Regions from separate parts of the Homo sapiens genome. Here region 1 is linked to region 2. The links are contacts of gene promoters, found by promoter capture Hi-C in blood cells and fetal thymus (Javierre and others, 2016). All regions are on one chromosome and are shown on one strand. Each heading gives the region's core, a stretch centred on a gene start or on the middle of the fragment in contact. The rest is flanking DNA. Distances are from core to core; before and after follow the strand shown.

Region 1 (4,316 bases), core at 748-3,247, 1.2 Mb after region 2:
ATATTTTGCCCAGGTTGGGCTTGAACTCATGATCCTCCTGCCTTAGCCTCCCAAGCTGGATATACAGACACATGCCACTGTGCTGGGGTTAGCCACTTGAAATATTTTCATGGACCTGGGCAGAGCAGCATAGTCATAATCACCTACCTCACAGAAGAGTCACCTGAGGTGGTGGCACCTGCCTCAAAAGTGGCAGGGCCTGGACCTGCATCTGCTGCCTCGGACACTTCTGGGCCTCACAGATGCCCATTCTCATAGGAAGAATCCACAACGAGCTATCACTACCTTTTCCTGTTTGAGTCCTACCAACAAGTATCCCTGAGGTCAGGATACTTCAGGAGCAAGGAACAAGAGTCACAGAGGACACAGCAGGTTGTAGCCATGAGAACATGGGCCCCTGACTGGCTATGTCTGTCCTGGCTAAGGAGGAAGGCACATCTAGCAAAAGACCACAAAATCTTGTGTCCCAAGACATGTGTCAGCTGGTATAGGAGAAAACCACTCAGGAAACCACTGTGGAAGCCACACGGGTCCCCTGCGGACTCCTTAAACAACCAATAAACCATTTTTTTTTAGTCCACACAGTTCCACCAGCATGAAATGCCATGACTCCTCATGTCCAAGACCACCTGCTAGAAGGAAGCCTGCTCAACTTGCAAAGTTTACTTTAGGTGTCACCCCCAGGCCTCCCTAACCATTGCGGGCAAAGAAGAGGGTAAAAACACAGGCTGTGATGGTAGACACACCAGTTGTTAGTTTCTGATACTTAAGAGCTACAGTGATGTAAGGCAGGTAATTGAACCTATGTGAGCCTCCAGCTGCTCTTGTGTAAAACAGTGAGGACAAGAGAACCTAATTCTAAGGAGTTCAGGATTAAAGGAGCTGAGGGTTAAATAATGCCTGCCAATCAGCCCACAGCAAGGACTCTTTATGATCAGCTGTCACTCTTTGCAATTATTTCGTTTCTCTTTGTTCACATAACATCCTAGACCAACTCAAACGGCAAGCTTCTTTAATATCGTCAGATTCTCTATACAAAAATGCCACACATTGCCAAAAATGGGCAAGTGCGTAAGGCGCCACTTTAGCCGGAATTGCCAAGAAAGCCACCTCCAAATAGGTGACATCTGGACAGAGGCCAGAAAGATATGAGAGGGAGGCCCTGCGAAGTTATAGGGGCAGTGTTCAAGGCAAAGGGAAGTGCAAAGAGAAAGCCTGGAAAAAGGAAGAAGACTGCACGGTCAGGTTGGTGGCTCTGAAGAGCAAAGGACAAGGGAAAAATGGAGAGACAAGGTCAGGGGTGGTTGGCCAGGTGGATGGGGTAGGGGCTGGCAGGCAACAGAGGAGGTTGGATTTAAGGGAAGTGTGATGAGATCCATGAAGGAAGCATCATTCATCCTTCTACCAAGGACTGAGCACCTGTCGGAGGCCAACACTATTGCAGGACTGCGGATAAAGGAAATGACAAGCTACGGCCACTTCTCTTAAATAAACGACGGCGACAAAGAAACATCCTGTGGCTGTCTTGGCTTCTGCCTGCCCACGAGGCCTCCAGAAGTAGCAGAGCAGCAGCAAGGCCAAAACCTCGTCCACTCACCTGCGCCGAGGCTGCCATCCTGAGACCCTGCAGCCCTAGCGGGGCCCGGGAATGCCGCGGCTCAGCCGACCCCCAGCCCTTCTCTGTCCTGGGCGGGGCGACCTCGGCTGACTTTCGCACTCGGAGCCTCAGTTTCCCCAGAGAAAAATGCGCACAAAGCGGGCGCAGCGTCGGGGCTGAGGAGACGGAGGGCGGCTGCGGAGGCCTAGGCCTCGGCAGGCGCCGGTGGAACACCCCGTTAGGGAAGAAGCGGGGCGTCAGGCTCCCGCCAAGATGCGGAGAAGGCGCGTAACAGCCTCATTACCCTCCCCTGCTCAGGCCGCTGGACGCGCCTACCCAGCGGTCCAGGCCCCACACTGTTCCAGGGCCAATCCTGCTCACGGAGATGACGTCACGCGACGAAGCGGAAGTCCCACCTCCGCCGCCCTGGCCCGCAGAAATCGCCCGTGTCCTGGCCCGTCATTGGCCTAGAGTCCGCGGCCGACGCAAGGGGTGGTGCCTTCTGAGTAAGGCAGTTTTTCCCTCACATCTACCGGGTGTGGGAACTCACCAAGCGCAGCCGACTCCATTTAAGTGCGCACAAGGACCCCCGCGTCGTCTTAGGGCCGCCGCTTTACTATGGGCACAAGTCGGAGGGTCGAAAGGTCCTTTCTAGCTTAGGAAAATTGAGGTCAGGAGGCGGGGATATTCGCCCCGATTGAGATCATGGGCTGGGCCCAGAGCTTCTGGCTCACTTCCCTTATTTTAGGGAGGTAGCTCATATATGTAATCTCAGTGCTTTGGGATGCCAACACAAAATAATTGCTGAGGTCAGGAGTTTGAGACCACCCTGGGCAATATAGTAAGATGTTATATCTACCAAAAAAAAAAAAAAGAGCAAGGCATGATGGTGTACACCTGTAGTCCTAGACACTGGGAGGCTGAAGCAAGAGGATTGCTTGAGCCCAGGAATTTGAGGTTATAATGAGATATGATGAGAGAAAACACACACACATAAACACACTGAGATGCCATCTTATACTGGTCAGAGTGGCTATTATTAAAAAGTAAAAAACCAACAGATGTTGGTATGGATGCAAGGAAAAGGGAACGCTTATATGCTATTGGTGGGAATGTAAATTAGTACAACCTCTATGGAAAACAGTATGGAGATTTATCAAAGAACTGAAAATAGAACTGCCATTTGATCTGGCAATTCCACTATTGGGTATTTACTTAAAGGAAAATAAACCACTATATCAAAAAGATGCCTGTACTTACATGCTTACTGTAGCACTATTCACAGTAGCAAAGTCATAGAATCAACCTAAGTGTCCATCGACAGATGATTGGATAAAGAAAATGCGATATATATATGTATATATATGTATGTATATGTATATATGTATATATATGTATGTATATGTATATATGTATGTATATGTATATATATGTATATATGTATGTATATGTATATATATGTATATATGTATGTATATGTATATATATGTGTATATATGTATGTATATGTATATATATGTATATATATGTATGTATATGTATATATATGTATGTATATGTATATATATGTATATATATGTATGTATATGTATATATATGTATATATATGTATGTATATGTATATATGTATATATGTATGTATATGTATATATATGTATATATATGTATGTATATGTATATATGTGTATATATATATACACTCCATGGAATACTACTCAGTCATTAAAAAAAATCATGGCTTTTGCAGCAATATGGCTGGAACTGGGGGGCCATTCTCTTAAGTGAAATAATTCAGAAACAAAGTCAAATACTGCATGTTATCACTTATAAGTGGTAGCTAAATGATGTATACATATGGAAATAGTGGAATAATAGACACTGGAGATTCAAAAAGGTGGGAGGCATTGCCGGGGACCCCTCACACCATGGTGCTTCACTCACCTACACCACAGCCATGCCACCCCATTGGCACACACTTGCAGGTAGCCCCCCTCTACTGCCCAAGTGGTGCACACTTGCCTGTGGCCTCCCCATCCCCCAGCCACAGTGCACTCTCTGCAGTCCCCACAATGCTCTGCTGGAGCACTTTTGCCAGCAGACTGAGAACACCTCAGCCCCTCTAGCACAGCAGGTGCTTCACCCCAAGCAGCCAGAGAACAAAGCCAAGGGCTTAATCCCCTCTACCCAGGTTTACAGCATGCAGCTCAGGAGTGCTCAGCTGAGCCTTGGCCTGTGAAAGCACCCATAATTGAAACCATGAAACTAAACCCAACTTATACCACAGTAAAACTCCCAAGGGCATCAAATAATATAAAAGCAGAAAGCCCCATCCAAAGGAGAGCAACTTCAAAGATTCAAGGAACATCAGCCCACACATATGAGAAAGAACCAGTGCAAGATTTCTGGCAACTCTAAAGGTCTCCAAACGACTGCACTAGCTCCCTAGTGATGGTTTGGAACCATGCTTAAATGGCTGAAATGACTTAGAATTCAGAGTCTGGATGGCAAGGAAGGAAAAATCCAAGGAAACCAATAATGCAATCCAAGAGTTTAAATATAATATTACCATATTAACAAAGAACCAAAATGGGCTGGGCACGGTGGCTCACGTCTGTAATCCCAGCACTTTGGGAGGCTGATGCGGGTGGATCACTTGAGGTCAGGAGTTCGAAACCAGCCTGACCAACATGGTGAAACCCTATCTCTACTATAAATACAG
Region 2 (3,711 bases), core at 1,211-3,710:
CCCCAGGTCTGGCTCAGGACCTCTGGGAGCAGCAAACCTCCCAGCTGACTTCTCTGGAGGTGAGGAAGCCAAGCCCACTAGTTCCAGCCACTCTAAACTGGGTTTCCATGGCTTGAGGCCCAAATCCTTTTTTTTTTTTTTGTTTTTGACACACAATTTTGCTCTTGTTGACCAGGCTGGAGCGCAGTGGCACAATCTCGGCTCACTGCATCCTCTGCCTCCTGGGTTCAAGCAATTGTCCTGCCTCACCCTCCCTAGTAGCTGGGATTACAGGCGCCTGCCACCACTTCTGGCTAATTTTTGTATCTTTAGTAGATACAGGGTTTCACCACATTGGTCAGGCTGGTCTCGAGCTCCTGACCTCAGGTGATCCGCTCACCTCAGCCTCCCAAAGTGCTAGGATTACAGGTGTAAGCCACCATGTCCAGCCCCAAATCCTTTTCAATAATAGATCACCAGTCTGTCCCTCTGCCCCAGGTCCTGTGGAGGGGTACAGCTTTTACAGACTCCACTTCTGGGAAGCAAAGAGCCACTAGTCAAGGAGCCTGGAAAACCACCAGGCAGAGGGCAGCCATGGGGACAGTCCCTTCTCACACCTGGGGCCTATACTTCCCACTTGGGGCTGCTCACCTGAATCCTGGGTGGGTGGAAGGATGTGGAGGCTGGTTCTTGGTGTCCATGGTTCCCCTCAGGGGACTGTGCTGCAAGTGGAGGGCTGGAGGGTGCTGAAAAGTGGGGCAGATGGAAGGGTGGTGTCAGGGGCTGCCCACATGAGCCATGGCAGATGAGGAGCTCCTCTGCTGTGTGACATGGCACGTAGCCAGCCCTTGGCTCCTGCCTCCCAGGTCCCCATCCCAGACAGGGACATCCACATTCACTTCAGGAGTCCCAGCCTTGACACACCTCTCCTGGGACTCCCACCCTAGCCAGGAATGTCCACACTTCCTCCAGGAGTCCCTCATCTCTGGTGGGACCCCAACCTCACCCACTTCCTGTCCATCGACATTGGGCTCCTCCTTCACACTGCAGCTGAGCTGGACAGACCCCTCTATTCTGGTGTCCTGGGGACCTTCCCCAGGGGACTCCACTGTCCCTGAGGGGTGGGGGCTCCCAAGTGGTTCCTCTGTCTTCTGGGCTGCAGGGAGCACCTCCTGCTTCAGGACATGGGCTGTGATCTGAGGAGAAGAGGTAGGTCACAATGGCTCTAGCCAGGGTCTATCCCTCCAAGAAGCTGATGCCAGCCACACTCACCCAGCCCAACAGTTGCCCAGGGTCATGCTGCAGTCCTTCGACTAGGGCAGCGGCCTCCTCAGGACTGCCTGGCCGCTGACCGCGCACCCAGGCCTGGATCTCGGGAGGCAGTGTGCCCAGGAACTGCTCCAGCACCAGCATCTCCAGCATCTGCTCCTTGGAGTGTGCCTCAGGCTGCAGCCACTGGCAACACAGCTCACGCAGCCGGGCCAGGGCTTCTCGGGGACCTGCCACCTCCTGGTAGCAGAACCCTCGGAAGCGGAGGCGGGCAGTCTCAGGCTCCTCAAGGGTGGTCTCTGGGTCCATGACGGGCAGGCATGGGGGACCCAGAGGGGATGGCATTCTTGCTCAAGGGGGTGGTCTTGGAATCGTCAAGATGGGCCTACAGAAAAGGAAGGGTCGGAATGTCAGCCAAGAGAATCTGGCCAGGGGAAGGCAGACACCAGGCTCAGCCCAGGGGGCTGAGACCAGGACCAAGTGTACTCTGAGGCCAGAAGAGATAAGGCCAAGAAAGCTTCATGGAAGGAGGAGGGTCACAGGACCCAAACAATGATGGCAAATGAGAGCAGGAGGAAGCCTCAGGGACAAATGCTTGGACGCAAGGTGTCCAGGGAGCTTCCTGGAAATTGCAAACAGTTGGGTCCAGCAGGGGACTGCTGGGAGATGACGCTAAAGAGGTGGAGAAAGACAGTCATCACAGAGTTCCAGCGCCAGGCTGAGGAGCCACAGTGTCTAGCCGAGGTGCGAGGAGAGTGGACCAGGGTGGGCGGGTAGAAGGTGGGGCCAGGCTGTAATGTACGGGGACGAGTCGCCCTCCACAATCTCGGGGAGGTTGACTGGGTGGGACCTCCTTTAGGAATGGCTCTGGGGAGGGGGCACGTGGACATCGTGCTCGCTGACCACAGCGAGCCGTGGGCGACTCACACTGCCGGGGCCCGTGCATGTGAAAACGAAAAGCAAAGGCCAAGAAAAACGGGGCCAAAGCTCCACGTTGCGCGGAGTCGAGGGATGGCCACAGCATCCCGGCCCTGAAGGTCTGCAGTGAAAGACGCCCACCTGGACGGGCCTGAGAGACCAGGCCTGACACCCGGCCTATCCGAGGGATGCTCGAACTTCGGGATCTGTCCCCAAAAGGGGAAGGCAAGAGGGAGGCGTTCCAAGAGGACTTGCCAGGCCCGGCCCCCCGGAACGGCGTTGAGGGTAGGAAAGGCCTGAGCGAAGGCTGAGGTGACGCGCGCGGCCTGTCGGGAAGTGGGCGGGCCCTCCAGGGCGCCGACAGCAGGAGCCGTTCAGGCCCCAGAGGGCGACCCCAAGCCCTCCCACGGGGTGGAAAGGCTGCGCCCACTCTGGCAGCCTGCGCTCACCTCAACCCGGAGCGGTTGCTTGGAGGCCGCTTCCCGGATGTGGCGCCGCACAACGCGGGGCGCCTCAGCCGGGTGTTGCCCCGGCGACGCCGCGCTGACCAATCTCTCGCCTGCACCGAAGGCACCGCCCATGCCCTTTGAACTACATTTCCCATGAGCATCAGCAAGACAGGCGCGACCGTGACCCGCTGACCCGCATTTGCAGCAGCCTCTGACGCCTGAGAGGCGCTCTGTTCCTCTAGGAGGTACGGCAGAGTCCCAGGGTTATATGGTCTCCCTCCGCTCTGAGAGCAGCTCTTCCCGGGTTATAAACTTGCGCGTCTGTACAGTGGGCCGGTTTCTATTGGCAGGTGAGGGGAGGGGGTTTTGCCCAATCAGAGGTGGCGCTTGCTTGGCCCCGCCGCCCCCACGCCATTCCCCGGGCCAGCCCCTAGATAACGCTAGGGCATATCCGCCCGCCTCCAGCTGTTCCCGTGGCAACGTTCAGGAGCGTTGCCTCGACTTCCGAAGAGGCTGGAAGTGGCGGCCCAGTGGTTTCCTAGGTCGAGTAGTTCGCTGGGACTCGCTTCCAAGTGGACCCGGGAGAGGCGGTGGTGTAGAAGACCACCCTGAGCCTGGGCTTTCTCCCGCCAGGAGGGTGCGAGGGCCATCTTTGACCTCTGTTAAGCGCCCTAAGGAGGTACCGACGGTTGTGACCGCAGTCTCTGACGTCTTCAGATGTCAGTCCTACAAAGTCGGGGGTGGAGGTTTCCCTCCAGGCTGATCGGACATGCTCAACCGTTTATTTACCTTTGAATTTGGGGAGCAGAACTAGCCAGGGTGACACTAGTTTCTCCCAATAAGCAGTGTTACAGTTTTCTAAATCTGTGGGGTCAGTTTTGCTTCCACACTTAAAAGTGGCCGAGCCATTACTTAGTCAGTCCTAAATTACACCGCCTGTTTTGGTTTCTTTGGATACCTGGGAATCCCTGCTGCCTGCTCTGGATGAAGAGCAGTGGTCTTGATCACCGATTGGAAGCACCGAGCATGTGCGTGGATGAGACTTGTCAACTCGGAGCTTTCCAACGGCCTCCTCAGGTTGTTTTTGGGGATGAGG

What was found. The method cuts DNA at HindIII sites, captures the fragments that hold promoters and counts their contacts. A CHiCAGO score of 5 or more calls a contact.
Region 1: the fragment with the promoter of ZNF543 here is called in contact with the fragment with the promoter of ZNF446 in region 2 in 1 of 17 cell types (fetal thymus); the score reaches 5.4 in fetal thymus.

The regions. Positions count from the first base shown.
Region 1 is chr19:57,318,153-57,322,468 of GRCh38, reverse strand. It overlaps ZNF543 (zinc finger protein 543), which reads right to left and starts at 1,997. Exons shown (of 4, transcript NM_213598.4): 1 at 1,598-1,997. The coding sequence starts at 1,615. RefSeq lists enhancers at 1,899-2,048, 2,059-2,178, 3,104-3,621. The HindIII fragment of the contact is 3,609 bases long and covers 1,010-4,316 here.
Region 2 is chr19:58,475,101-58,478,811 of GRCh38, reverse strand. ZNF446 (zinc finger protein 446) reads right to left here and starts at 2,460. Exons shown (of 7, transcript NM_017908.4): 1 at 2,308-2,460; 2 at 1,252-1,633; 3 at 986-1,175; 4 at 631-725. The coding sequence starts at 1,593. It overlaps ZNF324 (zinc finger protein 324), which reads right to left. Exons shown (of 4, transcript NM_014347.3): 4 at 3,376-3,711. RefSeq lists enhancers at 2,202-2,401, 2,556-2,850, 2,672-2,921, 3,162-3,221, 3,282-3,371. The HindIII fragment of the contact is 6,419 bases long and covers 1,768-3,711 here.